2 separate regions of the Homo sapiens genome follow, and region 1 is linked to region 2. The links are contacts of gene promoters, found by promoter capture Hi-C in blood cells and fetal thymus (Javierre and others, 2016). All regions are on one chromosome and are shown on one strand. Each heading gives the region's core, a stretch centred on a gene start or on the middle of the fragment in contact. The rest is flanking DNA. Distances are from core to core; before and after follow the strand shown.

Region 1 (4,343 bases), core at 1,560-4,059, 630 kb after region 2:
CCCCAGGGAGCACAGCTCCCTCCTCTGCCTACCAGCAGAGTGGCCACCTGTCTTGAGCTTCTTACTGGATCCTGATTAGCAGAGCCAGACAGGGTTGTCACCTGCCATATCCCTCTACGTGGCAGAAAGTCTGTTGCCAGCTTTGTATCCTAGAACTCTCTGGAAGTCAATCTGGTGTAGGAGAAAGAATTTAGGCTCCAGACAGGCGTCAGTCCTCATCCAGCTTGGTGACCTTGGGCACAACACATAACTGGTATAAGCCTCAGTTTCCCAATCTGTATCTTGGGACCAATATTTGTACTTACTGTACAGAGTTGTTGTGAATGTTGAGTAGCCCACTGTGTGTGTAGGCTCTGGCATATACTAGGTGTTCAGTAAGATTCCTGTCCCTCTGTGTGCAGCAGGTGCCCCATGAAGAATCTGTTGAATTGTGATTTGACATCAGCATGGGAAGGAGAATTCCGAAGGCAGACAAATGAGCCTTTGCTCCCTCCTCTGCCTGCTGGCACGGTGCCCACCAGTCTGAGTTCTGTCCTGCACCTTCCTGCAGAAATGAAGCAGCCACTCTGGCAGCCTTGGGTCCCCTCCAGGCTCATCCACTCTGTGGTGGGGTGTCCTCCTCCTTTTCTCCCTTACAGCTCCTTTCCCTTTTTCTGTGCTGCCTTCACTTCAAGCATGAGCTGAGGGTGACTCCTGGTGGCCATTCATATAACTGCAGAATCCTGACCATTGTCACCGCCACCTGGAAGTGCATGAAGTCGAGTGTGCAAGGAAGCCATTCTTCACACTTTCCCTACACCTCCCAACTCCCTGTCAGGGCCCTGGGGAGCCTCAGGGGTGGCCACTCCCCGGGGACTCCACCCTCCGAAGTTCCACCTCTAAGGGCTTCACTTGCCTGATGGGTGGGGACGATCAAGGAGGCCTCTGCCCAGATCCTGCAGCACCAGGCCTGCCCCAGGCAAAAAGCAGGACAGTGGCTACTCTTCCCTCAAGTGCCACTGAACACTTTGCAGGCATCATTTTGTCCAATTCTTATCACTGGAGCCCATTATCACAAAGAAGAAACCAAGGTTAAGCAACTTGCCAAGGGTCACACAGCTCCTCAGTGCCCAAATGGTGAAATGAATACAGGTGACACTCAGTGGGACACCAGACCAGCCCCTGGGGGACAGAAGAGGCCTATAGGAAGGAGCCTGCCATGGGGTTAGAAGCCTCAGATTCTGACCCGACCTTGCCCCAACTAGTGGGGTGGCCTCCATCAAGGGCCTCTGCTCACTGAGCCTCAGCCTCCTCGATGGCATCATGGGGCGGAGGACAGAGCAGGATTCTCAGATTGGCTGTACATGGGAATCACTGGGAGGATTTTTCAAATACCCATGTTTGCCCAGCCCTGACTAAGGAAATCAAAATTGGTAGGGGTTGGCTAAGACAAAGGTAATTTTAAGAAAATATTTCTAGGTGATTCTATAGGCAGCCAGGGTTGAGAATGGGTCCTCTAGGAGTTCCCCATCTTCAGACTTCCCAGCCCTCTAGAGGTCAGCTCCCCAGGGCTCCCCTCTGTCCTAAGGGCTCTCCAGATAAACTTTTTTTTTTTTTTGAGACGGAGTCTCGCTCTGTTGCCCAGGCTGGAGTGCAGTAGCGCAATCTCAGCTCACTGCAAGCTCCGCCTCCCGGGTTCACGCCATTCTCCTCCCTCAGCCTCCTGAGTAGCTGAGACTACAGGTGCCTGCCACCACACGTGGCTAATTTTTTTTGTTTTTTTTTAGTAGAGGCGGGGTCTCACCGTGTTAGCCAGGATGGTCTCAATCTCTTGACCTCATGATCCGCCTGCCTCAGCCTTCCAAAGTGCTGGGATTACAGGCGTGAGCCACCGCACCCGGCCCAGAGAAACTATCTTAGCTTGTCTACCCAGACCCACAAGAAGCTGCCTCCCAACCACCCAAGGGGACACAGGCCCATCAACCCTTTCCAGAGGGGGCACAGTAGGCTTGAGACTCTTGAGTCTCTGACCCCCAGCCTGGCCTCTGGGGTGGGGGGAGAGAAAGTCATAGGGAGCTTAACCTCAACAGGATGAAGGCGCCATAATTAGGGTCAGGCGGTTGGCTCAGCCTGCGGAAATCCCCAGCTTAGTAGGGATGGGGAGTGGCACTGCAGCCTGCGGGAGGGTTCAGGGCAGAAGTGAGGGGGCAGGGGGAGCCCAGGCACATGGAAACCCAGGACCTAGGCCCCAATTGCATCCTGAGAGGGCCCACTGGGGGCTTCTCAACACAGTTCACTCCCTCCCTGGGGTTGCTGAACCCCAGGGAGGGAGGGAAAGGCTGACCAGCCCCCCAACCCCAGAGACCCTACTGCTCCCTCAGGCTGGGGTGCATCAGGATCATCCCCCTACCCCAGCCTTTGTCAGGAGGAGGAGGGCACCGGTGGGAAAAGGCTACGTGAGTGTTCCCAGGGCGACCCAGGCTTTTCTCCTGACTGTAATCCTCAGGCCTTGAGAGAGGGATCGCTTTCCACTGTGGAATGTAACAAAGGGGACAAAATGGGGCAGGGGAGGGGGGCAGAAGCCAGGGAGGGAAGCTTGCAGGGTGGTACTTTTAGCCCCCAAAAGGCCCTCCAGGAGGCAGCTGCACAGAGAGAACCCCCCTGCCCCCATGACTCCCTGAGCCTGTCATCCAGCTCACCCCAGGGCACAGGGTCTCATCCTGGGTTGTCCAGGTGTCCCCCCGCAGACTCCTGCCATGAATCCCAGTGCAGGGGGATTTGGATGATCACCTTTGCCAGCCACTCATTTTGCAGGGGAGGAAATATTCCAAGAGATGAAAACTAGCCAAGACCACGCAGCACCAGAACCACTCCCAGAAGCCCCGGCTTCCCCAGAGACTGCTTCAGTGAGCCGGCAAAAACTGAAGCCTGCAGCCTCAGGAGTTCCCACACACACCTAGGCCAGAATCCCTCTGCCCCGCAGCAGGACACCCCTCCCTCTTGCCCTCCAGGGTCATGGGCTAGACATGGCAAGGTAAGCAGAAGGCAGATGCATACTAGTCCACACAAGCTTGTGACGGCTGGGACTAGGGGCCAACCTAGTGGCTCCCACGTTGAGAATCAACGCCAATTCCAGGAAGCCTTCCCGGCTAACCCCCAAAAAGCTGGCAATACTTCCCTCCCACAACACAGCCTTGGCTCTCGAAGGCTGTCCTCTCCCCCAGCCTCACTCTGACTCATCATGTAGGTCCCGCATGGGCCTCAGTTCTCCTGGCCATGGGCTCTCCCCATACCTTAACCTGGGAACCGTTGTGGGCAGGACCATGTGGGACAAAAAGGTCCTGTGCCCAACCCAGCACCAATCACAGGGAGGCCTGGGGATAAGCAGGGGCTCTTGGAAAGGGGGCAGAACTCAGCTCAAGTCACAGAACCTGGGAAGGACCTTCAGTGGAAAGCCGCTTCAAATGTCATCTGGGATGAGCATGGTGGCTCACACCTGTCGTCTCAACACTTTGGTGAAACTGAGGCTGGAGGATTGCTCAAGGCCAGGAGTCGAAGACCAGCCTGGGCAACATAGCAAAACCTTGTCTCTCTGTGTATTTTTTTAATATTAAAAAAAAAAAATTTAAGGTCATCTGGTCCAGTCCCTCGTGCCTCCCAGTTGGGAGGCACTGAACTTCTCAACACTGCAGAAACAGGCATCTCTTCATATATTTAGTCATTCAGTCATCCATCCAATGAACCTTGCCCAACTATCTTCTACATCTCCGCAGCCCAGGCAACCCAATCCATTCTCAAGGCACAGACTAAATCCTTACCAAATAGAGTCAAGGGTCCATCCATTTCCTCTCCTGGGCCTAACATGGTGCTAAGTGGAAGTAAAAGGTGCTGATCAGCAACGGCCACCCACTTTTATGTTGCACGGTGGCATTCTCACCTGGCTTGCACATCACCAGGTGATGTTCATTTCAGACTCAGCCACCATTCCAGACAGGTTGTCCCTCACTGGCAGATGGGAAGCTGAGGCTGAGCAGGTGAAATGGTCTTGCAGCTGGAAGAAAGGTAGGGCCAGGACTTGGCCCAGGCAGCTAAGCTCCCAGCCCCAGATTCATTTTACACACCCACTCCCAGCCCTCCACCAGCTTGGGTTTCATGTGGAAACAGGATTTCCCCCGGGGGAATGAAAATTTGATTTTGGCCCCTAATTATAAAAATAATAACAGTGAAGATGGATCAGAGGCCTGCTGGTCTCAGTGCTGTGCTGATTTTGCTAAATGCACAGGTGTCAAGTGTTGCCCACAGAACCCCCCACCCCTCCTCGGGGCCAGGCTCACAATGCCCTTGGCTGGCACAGCTGCACATGC
Region 2 (4,929 bases), core at 2,188-4,687:
GGATAACCCCTCCCATCTGGTCCCCAGACCAGACTTGTCCACGCCTTCCAGGCCCCAGGTTCTGTAGGTGTGGCTATACTACAAACCCAGCCCAGGCTGGCGTGGTATGCTAGGGAGAGACAACAACACTGAATTTGGAGTCAGGAGGCTCCTGGCCCTGGCTCTCAGTCTGTCTCAAACTGACCTTGGGCTGGGTACTGTGGCTCATGCCTGTAATCCCAGCACTTTGGAAGACCAAGGTGGGCAGATGACTTGAGGTCAGGAGTTCAAGACCAGCCTGGCCAACATGGCAAAACCCCATCTCTACTAAAAATACAAACATTAGGCCGGTACAGTGGCTCATGCCTATAATTCCAGCACTTTGGGAGGCCAAGGCGGGTGGATCACTTGAGGTCAGGAGTTCGAGACCAGCCTGGCCAACATGGTGAAACCCTATCTCTACTAAAAATACAAAAATTAGCTGAAGTGGCGGGTGCCTGTAATTCCAGCTACTGGGGAGGCTGAGGCACGAGAATCACTTGAACCCAGGAGGCGGAGGTTACAGTGAGCCGAGATCGCACCACTGCACTCCAGCCTGGGTGACAGAGTGAGACTCCATCTCAAAACAAAACAAACAAAAAAACCTGACTTTGAGCAGGTTATAGCTCTTCTGTGGGCCTTAGTTTCCTCATCTGTAAAATGAGTACAATTTTTAGCAGCTGTGTTTCCTGCCCCATGGGGTTATGTTGAGGATCAATTCAGACAACATATAAAAAGTCTAAGATTTAAAAAAATGATAAAATACCATGTATTTGAGGGTTTGACAAGGACAAAATAGGCACTCAATAAATACTGATGGCTGTTCCCCTAAGAACATGGGGTTCCCAACCAAAAGCTACCCTTCCTCCCCCCTACCTTTGTCACAGAACTTGCCTGCCCAGCCACTGTGGCAGATGCACTGCCATGGCTGGTGGCAGGTACCGTGCTGGCAGCCAGGCATCCTCACACAGCGCTCACAGTGCAGCCCCTCCCAGCCCGGGTCACACCTGACGGGGAGAAGCACAGGGTCAGGGCTCTGGGTCATGGATGTGAAGAAATGGAGGAGACAGAACCAGAGCTTCTAGAAACCAAGAGGACATATGACAGCCCCTAAGGGAAAGCAGACCTGTCCCAGGTAGGTGTAGGACTGTGCAGGGTCATAGGACACATATACGGAATCAGACCATCAGACACCAGCACTCAAACCCTGGTTCTGTACTTTAACCTGAGCCTCAGTTTTCTCACCTGTAAATTGGGGATACACCTTGCAGGGTTGAGTAGAGGAAGAAATAAGATGTCTGTAAATGCCTCCAGTACCCCTCCTGGCATGTCTGAGGTGCTCACAAACATTTAAAGAAGAATGACCTTGAAAGGCCATCAGGGCCGGGGCGTGGTTGCTCACGCCTGTAATCCCAGCACTTTGGGAGGTCGAGGCAGGTGGATCACTTGAGGTCAGGAGTTCAAGACCAGCCTGGCCAACTGGGTGAAACCCCGTCTCTACAAAAAATACAAAAAATTACCCGGGCATGGTGGTGTGCATCTGTAATCCATTATTGAGGAGGCTGAGGCAGGGGAACTTGAACACAAGAGGCAGAGGCTGCAGTGAGCTGAGATCGCGCCACTGCACTCCAGCCTTGGCAACAAAGCGAGACTCTGTCTCAAAAACAAAAAATAAAAATAAAAACAAAAAAGGTCATCAGGACTATCCTCCCACCATGATTCCAGGGCAAACACTTGACCCATATTTTAAAAGCCCTCCAGGGGTGAAGAGTCTCAAAGACCCCCAGCCAATTGAACTACCTGCCTCATCAACTCATTTCCTTATGTCCACTTTCCTCCTGCTACAGAATTTGCCCAATCTCCCAGTGAGTCAACTACTCAAACTCATCAAGAAAGATCCTCTTTCATTGTAAGTGTTTCTCCCCAGCAACTCTCCCTGCAGCATTTCTTTTCCAGGCTAAACCATTTCTCTTTCCCTTTTTCCTTTATCTTTCCATTTCCTCATGGCACCCAATCCCCAAGCTCTCTCAAGCTTTAGGTCTCTCTCCCTGTCAGGAGTTCAGACAATCCCTGGATCAGACTTGGGAGATTAAAGAAGTGGGGAGATAAAAACTAGAAGAAGCAAGAGAGGTGAGGTAAAGGGGAAAGGGGGACTGGCCAGTCAGCCATAGGAGTGATGAGGCATGAAGAGTAGAGTCTGAAGCCCCTAGACACTGTTGTGCACGTGAAGGGCTTAGAAATGGGTACCAAAGGGTTTGGGGGCACGTGCTCAGGACAGGTACCTGCAGGAGCCGTCAGGTGCACAGCAGCCGTGGGCCAGGTCACAGTGGGAGCTGCAGTCATCGGCTGCAAGAGATTGATGTGGGAGGGGTGAGTCTGAGTCAGGGCACAGCTCGCTGGGATGCGGGACTCAGGAGAGGATTGGGGTTCCAGTAACTGAGCGGACTCAACCCTAGGGCAGGACATAACACAGAAACTCATCCCATTCCAAAAAGGCAACCTCGGTCTTGCTTGCCCCGCGGGTCGGAGCGACTGCAGTGCCGCCTCCGGCCGGCAGAGGTCAACGTGCAAGCGAGGACGGCTGGACAGGGCCGCGACTGGAGCCCAGCGGGCGCGCTCACCTCGGACAGGCTGACCGGGAGCCCCCAGAATGCACAACAGGCACACGAGATGCAGGCAGCGGCAGCCGCTGGGCATGGTCAGCGCCGGCCCCAGGAGGGACGGACGGATGGACGGCCGGACGCGTGGACACCTGTGGGACGGCACCGGTTGGGAGGCGGCCGGACGCGGAGATAGCGGCACGGATACGGGTTCCAAGTGACAGGAGCCGACGAGGGAGAGGGGCGCCGGGACAGAAGAAGGGGATGGGGGTAGCGGGAGGATGGGGGCAGGGAAGGGTTGAGCAGGCGAAGAGAGCGAGGAGAGCGAAGACAGGAACCCGGGAGCGGGGTCTGCAAGGAGGGGAAAGATGGGCATCGCGGAGCGAGGCCAGGCGCGGGAATGGCTGGGGTTGGGATCGTAGTCAGGACGGAGGGGTCCGCGGGATGGGGACAGCGCCGAGAGGCGGCCTCGAGCACGGAGGGGACGCGGGGGCCGGAGGGAAGGACGGTTCCCGGCAGCGAGCAGTCTCCGCCCCACAGCTCCGACAGCCCCCCCCCCCGCCACCACCACTCTCTCCCACGTCCCCTTTCTATCTCCGCCGCGCTGGGTTCGGCGGCGGCGCGGGGCCTGGAATCCCCACCGCGCCCTGTCCCCGCAGTCCTCACCTCCGGCGGGGAGGTGGCGCGCCCCGGGGCGCAGAGAGAGGCCGGATCCGACGGGCGCCGCCGAGGGGCCGTGAGGGAGCGCGGGGCCGCCCCTAGCTGGCCGCGGGGCCGGGCGCCGAAGCGGCTGCCATGCGAGCCGAGCGCTCGGGAATCTGGGGCTCCAGGCGACCCCGAGCGGCGGCAGCGGCTGCTCCTCGCGCGCGCTCAGGCCCCCTGCCAGGGGCGGAGCCCGCCCCCACCCCCATCCCCCCCCCCGCGACGCACGGCGCACACCTAGCACCCGGCGCGCCCCGGGGCCCCGGCCCTCCGCGGCTACCCAACGCCCCGAACCCAGCTTCCTTCCAAGAGAGGAGGAAATCTTAGGAGTCTCAATGGGAGCAAACTATTAAGCCAAAGGAGCGCAACCCCGTTATTCTCTCATCTCCCATGCCCACTTTCCCGACCAGCGCTCCGCGGCCCACGCCCCAGCCCTGCCTTCGCTTGTCCGCCGCTCATCACGCTTCTCATATAGATCTATGCACACGCAGGCAATCGCTCCCCGCCCTCCGCCTGTCACCAGCCCACGCCTCCCCGCTTGTAAAGCCTTCATCACCTGCTTCATCTGTGTGCTCCTCTGCTCCTCCTCGCCCTCCGCTTCTTCCTGTCCACGTTGCCGTCTCCAGCCTTCCAAGATCAACCTATCCCTATATAAATATCAACCCGATCCACCCAACCACACCCCGGCCCTACCCCCACCACCCTTCCCTCCCTCAAGTCTCAGCCCTTCCACCCCATTCCTTTTTGTGACTGCCTCTGAGAATCCTTTCTGGACTGGGAATGCCCCTGACTCTGTAAATGTGCACACAAAACCCCCTCCACCGCCAAGTCTTCTCCTGTACCCCATCACGTTCGTCCTTGGCCTCAGGCTAAACCTCAACTGCCCAAACCTGGAGCTCAGATTCAGAGAGTAACGGAGGGGGAGTGGGGGAAAGCTGCCCTCCAGGCCTCTTTGCCCCCTTCTGGCTAATGGCTCAGAGACACATTTCAAGACAAGGACCCAGCCAAGCTCGGTGGGCTCACGCCTATAATTCCAGCACTTTGGGAGGCTGAGGCGGGCGGATCACCTGAGGTCAGGAGTTCGAGACCAGCCTGGCCAACATGGTGAAACCCGTCTCTATTAAAAATACAGAAATTAGCCAGGCGTGGTGGTGCGCGCCTGTAATCCCAGCTACTCGGAAGGCTGAGGCAGGAAAATCGCTTGAAAACCCGGGAGGCAGACGTTGCAGTTAGCCAAGATCGCGCCACTGCACTCCAGCTTGGGGGACAGAGCAAAACTCCGACCCCCGCCCCCCCCCAAAAAAAGACAAGGACCCAGAACATAATTTCTAGTTTGTGCAGGACAACAGGGCAGAGGTCAGGAACGCTAGCGCCCATCTCTAGTCCTTCAGATTGAGATTTCACCATCTTTAAATTCAAAACATCGGAAGGAGCAGTCGCTAGTCGGGGCAGAGCAGCTTCCCACCTTCACACAGCCACCTCCACAGGCACAGAGCCCCAGGGCTCATTTTTCCTGCAGTCTCCATTGGATATAACACTTACACCCACTCAGCTCCCTAGCTGGCCTCCTCTCAGCTGTGATCGCCTCTTCCCTGAAGAGCTCTCTGAA

Evidence for each region. Contacts are between HindIII fragments. The CHiCAGO score rates a contact against its expected background, and 5 or more counts as called.
Region 1: a fragment that was not itself captured here is called in contact with the fragment with the promoter of DLK2 in region 2 in 1 of 17 cell types (M0 macrophages); the score reaches 8.4 in M0 macrophages.

Annotation. Positions count from the first base shown.
Region 1 is chr6:44,078,643-44,082,985 of GRCh38, forward strand. No RefSeq gene overlaps it. Among named protein-coding and RNA genes, the nearest start is that of SCIRT, 6.2 kb to the left of the region's middle. The HindIII fragment of the contact is 475 bases long and covers 2,573-3,047 here.
Region 2 is chr6:43,452,111-43,457,039 of GRCh38, forward strand. It overlaps DLK2 (delta like non-canonical Notch ligand 2), which reads right to left and starts at 3,438. Exons shown (of 6, transcript NM_023932.4): 1 at 3,285-3,438; 2 at 2,640-2,770; 3 at 2,301-2,364; 4 at 895-1,025. The coding sequence starts at 2,715. RefSeq lists enhancers at 2,417-2,466, 4,095-4,929 and silencers at 2,997-3,076, 3,107-3,156, 3,257-3,496. The HindIII fragment of the contact is 6,033 bases long and covers 2,049-4,929 here.